Linked DNA regions of Homo sapiens: regions 1 and 3 are each linked to region 2. Evidence: promoter capture Hi-C in human tissues and cell types (Jung and others, 2019). All regions are on one chromosome and are shown on one strand. Each heading gives the region's core, a stretch centred on a gene start or on the middle of the fragment in contact. The rest is flanking DNA. Distances are from core to core; before and after follow the strand shown. Region 1 overlaps VPS8 (VPS8 subunit of CORVET complex). Region 2 holds the start of THPO (thrombopoietin). Region 3 overlaps VPS8 (VPS8 subunit of CORVET complex).

Region 1 (2,700 bases), core at 130-2,629, 450 kb after region 2:
CACTTCTGTCGTTTTATTTTTTAAGTGATTTATAGGAGTTCTTTATATATGCTAATACAAGCCCTTTATTTGATGTACATATTTTATCTTCTTTCTTTCTGTACATTACCTTTTCACTCTATTAATGGTTTCTTTTGAGGAGCACAAGTTCTTAATATAGTTCAGCTTATTAAAATTTTCCATTCGTGTGCGTGTGTGTGTCCTATTTAAGAAAATTTTTCCAATTCTGATGTTATGATGATGTTACCCTATTTTGTTCTAAAATCTTCATTGTTGTTCCTTTCATATGTAGATCTGTAATTCATCTGGAATTTTTTTTGGGTGTGATAGTGTGAGCTATGAGCCAGCACCATGTACTAAAAAGAGTATTCTCATCTGGTGTCACCTTTGTTATAAATCAGGTAATCATATAGGTGTGGATCTGAGTCCATTGGTGTGTCCATACTTGCCTCGATCTCACATTCTAGTGATTGAAACTTTATAATAGGTCTTGATATCTGGTAGTTTAAAATCTTCCAGCTTTGATGTTATTCTTCAAGATTGCCTTATTTATTTATTTATTTTTTTGCATTTTCATGTAAGTTTTAGAATTAGTTTATCAGTTCACACACACACACACACACACACACACAAATCAGCTGAAATTTGAAAGGATTGTGCAGTTTTTTTCACATCAGTTTGGGGATAATTGATACTTTTACTGTGTAGCAGTAGTTTTAAATTCAGTCTTGACATCTTCACTTCTTTTTTTCCCTTCACTTTTTCTTTCACTTATCCTGTAAGCCTGGCTTAATTCATCTGATCCATTTTCTTTAATTATGTCCCCAGGCTTTTTAAGAAAATCAAATAACATTTTGATTGACTCTCTTGTTTAAGATCTTGATGCTGCTGTATTTATTTCTGAATTATTTCCTTCCCTTTTCCTACAGCAATCGTTCCAATCTTTATAGCACTTAAGCAACATAATGTCTTATTGCCAGTCCTAACCCTCTTTTTAGAAGACCTATGTGTAGAGATATCTGGAAAGCAATGGTAAATTTGGACCTAAACCTTGAGAAATGTTGATGCTAAAGACACAGATTTTGGAGTCATTAGATAACATGGTTCTTAAAGCTATAGATATGGATGAGCTTACTCAAATAGGAAGTCCATGAAGTAGGAAGAGAAGATGAGAGCTTAGAATATAATCCTGGGGGACAATCGTATTTAAAGGTTGGGCTGAGAAGAAGCTAGCATGTGACTAATAGGAGGACACATAAGTTAGCGGAGAACCAGGAAGGAGAGATGTACCGAAAACTAAAGGAAAAGAAAGCTTCGAGATGTAGTGAATGAGCCAGGCGTGGTGGCATGCACCTGTAGTCCCAGCTTCTTGGAGGCTGGAGTGGAAGATTGCTTGAGGCCAGGAATTTGAGGCTGCAGTGAGCTGTGATTGTGCTACTGCACACCGGCCTGGGTGACAGGGAATGGTCAACAGGATTAAATGATGCCTGGAGAACAAGAACATGCTAACAGAAAGCAGGCCAGTGGATTTGGCTAGTAGCATCAGCAAGGTCGGTAGGAGCTTGTAATGAGTGGATCGAGGTAGTGAGTAGACATTAATCTCTCAAGTACATTGATTGGAAGTGGTAAGGCAGAAGGTAGTGCAGCTGAAAGAGACGGTGAGACATTGTTCTCTGATGTTTGTCACTCAGAATCAACTTGGGCAAAGCCAAGTTCCTCATCCTGCTTTATCTGCCATTTGTCTGCTTTCTAATTTCAGTGAGTAGAGTCACCTTTTACCTGGTTGTAGAAGCTGGAAACCTTGTACTCTTCTGTGACTTCTCCCTTACCTCTCCTCCCATCCGTACTCCTACTCAACCCCCCATTTCAATGGTAACCAGAGACGTTTGATTTTTTCTCCGTAATGTGTTCATCATTCCCTCTGTTGACTTCTTCTGCAGCTTCTTAGGTTGGGATCTCCCGTTTTTCCTTGATAGTGCAATAGCCCTCTTACTGGTCCTTAAAGTCTTCTTGTCTCGCCTCATCCATTCTTCATACTGCCCCACCTATCTTTTTAAAACATGGTTCCCATCATGTCTTTCCACTTCTTAAAAATGTCAGTTGCCTTCCCACTGCCTGCTATATATAGTATACTAAATATTCATTAAATGAGTACTGGTTATGTGTCAGGCATTATACTAGGCACTAGAGGTACAATGATGAACAAGATAGACATGGGCCCTGCTGCCATCTAGTGTAATGGCATATAAGGCTTTTCATGGTTTGGGTACCAGCTTATCTTTCTAGGGTCATCTCCAACTTCTGCTTATATCCTCCAGACATTTTGGACTACTACTTTTCCCATGGACAAAATCTGTATTGTGAAATCACTGTGTCTTTCTGTGCTGTTTCCTACCCAGAATGCCTTTCTGCACTGTTTCCTACCCAGAATGCCTTTCTGCTGTCTGCTTGTCATTTTTTTTTATAGTAGACTATTTATAGTCAGATGGTGTTTGTTTTCTTCAAATTAGCCATTGGCTGTTAGTTAACTGCTAAATCATCTGTAAAAGCTTGATTTTTAAGAAATATTCTACAGCTAACAGTAATCTGCATACTGCTCCTGCTTCTTCCTGCTACACGAAAGAAGTTTTGGGGTGACTTCTTTGTAGAGAGAAATAGCTGTCTAGAATTTAATACTAGTAATTCTGTATGGTTTCTTTC
Region 2 (2,700 bases), core at 172-2,671:
GGTGAGCCGAGATCGCACCATTGCACTCCAGCCTGGGCAATAAGAGTGAAACTCCGTCTCAAAAAAAAAAAAGAAAGAAAGAAAGAAAGAAAGAAAGCAAGAAAGCATATGGTGTCTCCTTTTTGTCAGGACTCCTCAGTGAATCGGACATGGATTTGGTGCCACCTACCCCTGCTGAGAGCAGCAGGACATGATATGTATACACACATATCTTAATTAGCCTTAAATTCTGAGCAACCTTGGTTGTTAGGTCAGAGAAAATCTGGGATGGGGATAGAGAAGGAAAGTATTGTGGCTTCAGCCTGGAGAAGAGAGTGGAAAATGGGATGCAGGGCCTGGGTGAGGAACTGGCAAACGGGCGCAATATGTTGAGGGGTAACTTCTGCGGTGGGGAGTGGGGCTGGGGAGGGGAACTGCACAAAGCTGTAACTGGGACCACTAGAGGTCAGGATTAAAAGGCGGTATGGGAGAAATTAACCTCTATTCTTTCCCTATCTACCCCCACACATAAAGCCACTGGAGCTTTTCTCTGGACTCCAAGTCCTGAAATACTCCATTATCTGAGGCCAAGAGATGGGCTAACAGTTCTGGGACTTCCTTCCTGAGACCAGCTGCCCAGGAACGGGCACCTGCTGGGTGATGCCCACCTTAGGGGCTTACCTTGTCTTAGGCGCCCACTAACATATCTGTCTCATAGCTCACACCTGCCTCCCTGCCCCCTTGGCAGAACCCCTTCCGGTTCCTTCACAGGACCCCCCACATGGCTTCCTCCTCCTTTCACAAGTTGTGCAAAGAGGCTTGCACCTGATTCAATATTGGGATTTCCTGTAGGTCTGTCAACATGAGTGGGCCCTCCTCCCATTACCCTCTCCTTGCGCCCTGGCTTGCCTGGCCCAGCTTCCCCAGCACCAGATTCAGAACCTTAAGCTAACGAGGAATGACCAGCTAAGAATGGGGATTGGGGCTGTGTCCATCTTACTACTGTGTTTGCTAAGCCCTAAGTGCAGCTCCCTCTCTTATTTTCTCCCTGGGCTCATGTCCCCTTTCCTTAGGGCCAGCCAGGGCTGTGCTGTATTCCACCAAGTAAGTGATCAGTCCCTCAGAAACCAGCACCCCACCCCCTACCCCTGCTCTGCCCTGCTCCTCCCATTCTGGGAAGGCTACACTCTTCTCGACAAAGGTCAGTGCCTGTAGGTTCCAGTTTGCCTGCCCCTCCCCCAGCTGGGAGCCCATTTCTCTTTGCTGTCCTTTCTACCCTCACATAACCCCACACCCTGCTGGCCACTCACCGGGTGGAGAAGGGCTCCAGGACCCAAGTGCACAGCAGGCAGCCCTCTGGGGAGCAGATGGGTAGGAAGACATGTGGCGGTGGGGCACAGCCCCTCCACAGCAGCAGGTCATACGCCTGCCTGGGCCACTTCTGCCCAATCAGAGAAGGGAGCCACCAGACACTGGTGAAGGCCCCCGGAAGTGACGCCTTCTCTTCCCTGGAGCCCCTGCCTGGACCAGGGTCCACTCCTCCACCCACACACACCACGGAGAAGATTTGGATAGGGGGATCCATCTTTTCCTGGACATGGGCAACCTGGGACCTGGAGGGGGACAGGAGCAGAAGTTTTTTTCCAGGAGGAATCTGGCAGGACATTTGTGTTGCTGGGGAAGAAGCACAGAGGTCTTGTTTAAGATTGGTGGGGTTTTCACTCCCTGGCTATCCAAATTTCTTTTCCCTGGACATCATACCTGCTGCTGAAATCCAACAGGATGCTTGCTTTCCTGCTTTTCTTTCTGTAATCCCCTAGGGAGTCCTATCTTGTCATTCCCCCTTTCGAAGTGGGAACACGGATATTGCCCACATGAGAGAAATCTCCTGTTATGGGTTGGTGTTATGGGGAAAGGGTTTGGACGGGTTGAGTGGACTGTCAGGTGCGGGGCACATGTATGTGCGCACACGTGCACTGGGTTAAGCCTGAGCTTAGGTGCTCGTCTGCTGGGGTCCAGTGGCTTAGATGGCTACACACACAGACCTCTGTGCCCAGGGCCCTCCTTTGCTTGTTCTGTCTCCGTCTTCCATCTCCTACCGTTCCACATGTGACAAGAGGAATAACCAGGCCCATGTGTCCCTGTCTTAGGAAAGACAGCTGCTGGACCTCCCCCGCAAATACCTCCCTGCTGGCCCCCCTTTTCCTTTGGCCCTGGCTCTAGCTCCTTTGCTTTCTTCCCAGTCCCAGTCTCCCCACAGTCTCTGTCCTCAGGGGCTTCCTGGCCTGACCTTGATCCCATCATCCCCCTGTCCCCCAGAACTTCCTCAGGCTCTCTCCTGTTCCTCCTCCCCAAGGATGGGCATGTCTGCTGAGAAGTGTGGCCTAGATCCTGGAATTTTCCCGTCCAGCCAGACGAGATGTCTCCCAAGATTAGGAAGGAGGGTGCTGGGATAGCTGGGAGGATAGTGGGTGTGTGTGGGAGGGAGAGACAGGAGACAGGGAGGCAGGCATGACCAGGGAACCAAGAGAAAGGAGGCTGGGAGTGGGCTGGAGAGGCAGAGGGTCCCTTGGGTGAAGGAAGGGGGTGAGAAAGCAAGAGGGGACTGTCGAATGCGCCTGAGGATAAGTTACAATGAGAGGGAGATACTGTCACTCCACAGAAGGGGGAATGCTGCCGGTTTCTGGCTAGGTCCCTGTCCTGGGTAACACAAGAATGAGG
Region 3 (2,700 bases), core at 73-2,572, 470 kb after region 2:
ATTCCCTAGACCTGAGAATGAGTGACTGTGTCTGATAACTAGATTTACTTTTATAGAAGGAGAACTGGCAAATGTGAAAGCTATTCAGATGATTGTCAGATGCCTTCTAAGCACAAGGCATTAAGCAAGGTGCTTTGGGAGTGTTAATTCACTCATGATCTTAGCCCTCAGAGAGGTCATAGTGTAATAGGGGAGGTAAGACATACCCCAAAATTCACATGTAGATAATTAAGGGAGACACAAACAGTGCTGGGGAAGTTGCGAAAACTCCAAGTTGTGGAAATATGGTGTTTTTTGCATTTTTCTAAATAGTTAAATTTTGTAGGCATGCATTCTGACATTTAAATTTTTAATTTCATTGTTTTCAAGTGGGTATAATAATGAACTCTAGACAAAATAAGCATTGCCTAGGAGAAACCCTAGAGAAATTTCTTTTAATTATTAGATAACAGAATTTAATAAATATTTGAGTGCCTCCTGGAGAAATCAGAGGTGATTAAGGCAAGATCCTCGCCCTTATCACCCTTAACAAACTTAATCTAATAGATATTTGAATTGCTTGCTTTTAGCATATTTTGTTTGTTTGTTTGTTTGTTTTTGAGATGGAGTCTTTCTCTGTCTCCCAAGCTGGAGTGCAGTGGCATGATCTCAGTTCACTGCAACCTTTGCCTTCTGGGTTCAAGCAATTCTCCTGCCTCAGCCTCCCAAGTAGCTAGGATTACAGGTGCCCACCACCACACCCGGCTATATTTTTTATATTAGTGGAGATGGAGTTTCACTGTGTTGGCCAGGCTGGTCTCGAACTCCTAACCTCAAGTGACCTTCCCTTCCTCAGCCTCCCAAAGTGCTGGGATTACAGGTGTGAGCCACCGTGCCTAGCCACTTTTAGCATATCAAATTTTGATGTTTGAAATAATTTTCTGAAGCTGTTTAAATGTTTACTCTGTAATTTGCACCGTTAATTAGCTTAGTAAATTTTCTTTATGGATAATATAAATGTAAATTTCAGCCAAATTCTAAATTAAGTTTCTTGAGTTTTGAAGTTTTATAGTTATTTTAAAAGACGATGGTATTCCCGATAACTTTGCATCTTAAAAATAGCAAGAAATACAATTCTAGGATGAGACAGGTGACGGTTTGTTTAAGGAGATACAGATTACATGTGGATTTTTTGGCTTATCATTAGCATTTTTTATTATGCTTCCTTGTAGATCTTTTTTTTTTCCTGTATTCTTTTTTTTTTTTTTTTTTTTTTGAGACCATGTCTCACTCTGCTGTGCAGGCTGGAGTGCGGTAGTGTGATCTCAGCTGACTGCAACCTCTGCCTCCCAAGTTTAAGTGATTCTTGTGCCTCAGCCTCTGGAGTAGCTGGGACTACAGGCGTGGGCCACCATGCCCAGCTAATTTTTGTATTTTTAGTAGAGTCGGGGTTTCACCATGTTGGCCAGCCTGGTCTCGAACTCCTGACCTCAGGTGATCCACCCACCTCGGCCTTCCAAAATGCTGGGATTACAGGCATGAGCCACCGCACCCGGCCTTTTTTTTCTGTATTTTTAAGTGTCTAATTCAACGCCCAGCATCTGCTAGTTGCTCAATAAATATATTTAAAAATGAATGTGACTTCATTATCTGCTGCTTTTGATTCTTGTCACCTCCCAAGTCTTTGAAAGCATGCCTGTACTCGATGTATTTACTCTCTTGCATTTCCTTCACTTGACTTTAAAAACTGCTTTCTTTAGATCAGAATCAAGCTTTGCGACTCTGTCTGGGTAGCACTAGTGTTGGAGGTCAGTATGGCGCTATCTCTGCCCTCAGTATCAACAATGATTGCTCAAGACTTCTTTGTGGCTTTGCTAAAGGACAGGTAAGATATGAACCTCCTTTAATTCATAAGACAATGTTAAAACAAGATGAATTTACAAAAACTTACATCTTAGATCAAAGACCAAAATACGTGTTATGAAGTAATATGTTTGTAGAGCTAACCAGAGATTGCTGAATCTGAGTTTTGTCTTGTTCAAAATTTTACATAATTGTTATCGACTGACCCAGAGTCTGTAATTTTTTATATCCTAGTTCATGTGTCTATTTGAGTAAATAATTTTTGTAAACCAACCAGGGATGTTATATAAAATGTACTTCCTTACAGTCGTGTAAATAATGGAGGCTGCTTTTTAGAAAGATTCTGTGTTCCTGGATAACGATTTTTGCATTTCTTTCTTCTTCTGAAACTGGCATTAGATTATGGTTTTTTTATCTTCTGATTCATACATCACTAGCTAGTTTGGCAGTAAGCCTTTCCGATACTTTTTACTAGTGCTAAACAGATTGACTTATTAGAGAAATATCTTTTGTCTCTCAGTATGAGAACAACATTTAAAATCTAAAGGGAGAAGTAGGATGGGCAGGATGAAGGGTAAATGAAGATCGAATAAAGGCTCTATGCTTTAATGGATCTGCAACCTTTAGGTATGTTTTAACTTTATAGTTCTTTGCCTGCAATGTTTATAGTCAAGGAATAGATTATTCCAGCCAGAAGGCAGGATACTTAAGTCCAAAAAAAGAGCAATAAATTTGTTTTTGAAGCACTTAGTTGTCTTATAGATCACCATGTGGGATTTGGCCAGTGGAAAACTTCTAAGATCAATAACAGATGCTCATCCTCCAGGAACAGCAATATTGCATATCAAGGTAAGAGCT

What was found. Contacts are between HindIII fragments. The study calls those that stand out against the background at their distance.
Region 1: a contact is called between a fragment that was not itself captured here and the fragment with the promoter of THPO in region 2, in 4 of the 25 tissues and cell types used here (IMR-90 fibroblasts, aorta, bladder and 1 more).
Region 3: a contact is called between a fragment that was not itself captured here and the fragment with the promoter of THPO in region 2, in 1 of the 25 tissues and cell types used here (thymus).

What each region holds. Positions count from the first base shown.
Region 1 is chr3:184,829,851-184,832,550 of GRCh38, forward strand. The region is part of intron 3 of VPS8 (VPS8 subunit of CORVET complex); the gene reads left to right. Among named protein-coding and RNA genes, the nearest start is that of VPS8, 19 kb to the left of the region's middle. The HindIII fragment of the contact is 4,523 bases long and covers 1-2,700 here.
Region 2 is chr3:184,376,786-184,379,485 of GRCh38, forward strand. It overlaps THPO (thrombopoietin), which reads right to left and starts at 1,422. Exons shown (of 6, transcript NM_000460.4): 1 at 1,290-1,422. The HindIII fragment of the contact is 16,052 bases long and covers 1-2,700 here.
Region 3 is chr3:184,847,332-184,850,031 of GRCh38, forward strand. VPS8 (VPS8 subunit of CORVET complex) reads left to right here. Exons shown (of 48, transcript NM_001009921.3): 9 at 1,740-1,864; 10 at 2,605-2,691. Among named protein-coding and RNA genes, the nearest start is that of VPS8, 37 kb to the left of the region's middle. The HindIII fragment of the contact is 4,598 bases long and covers 1-2,700 here.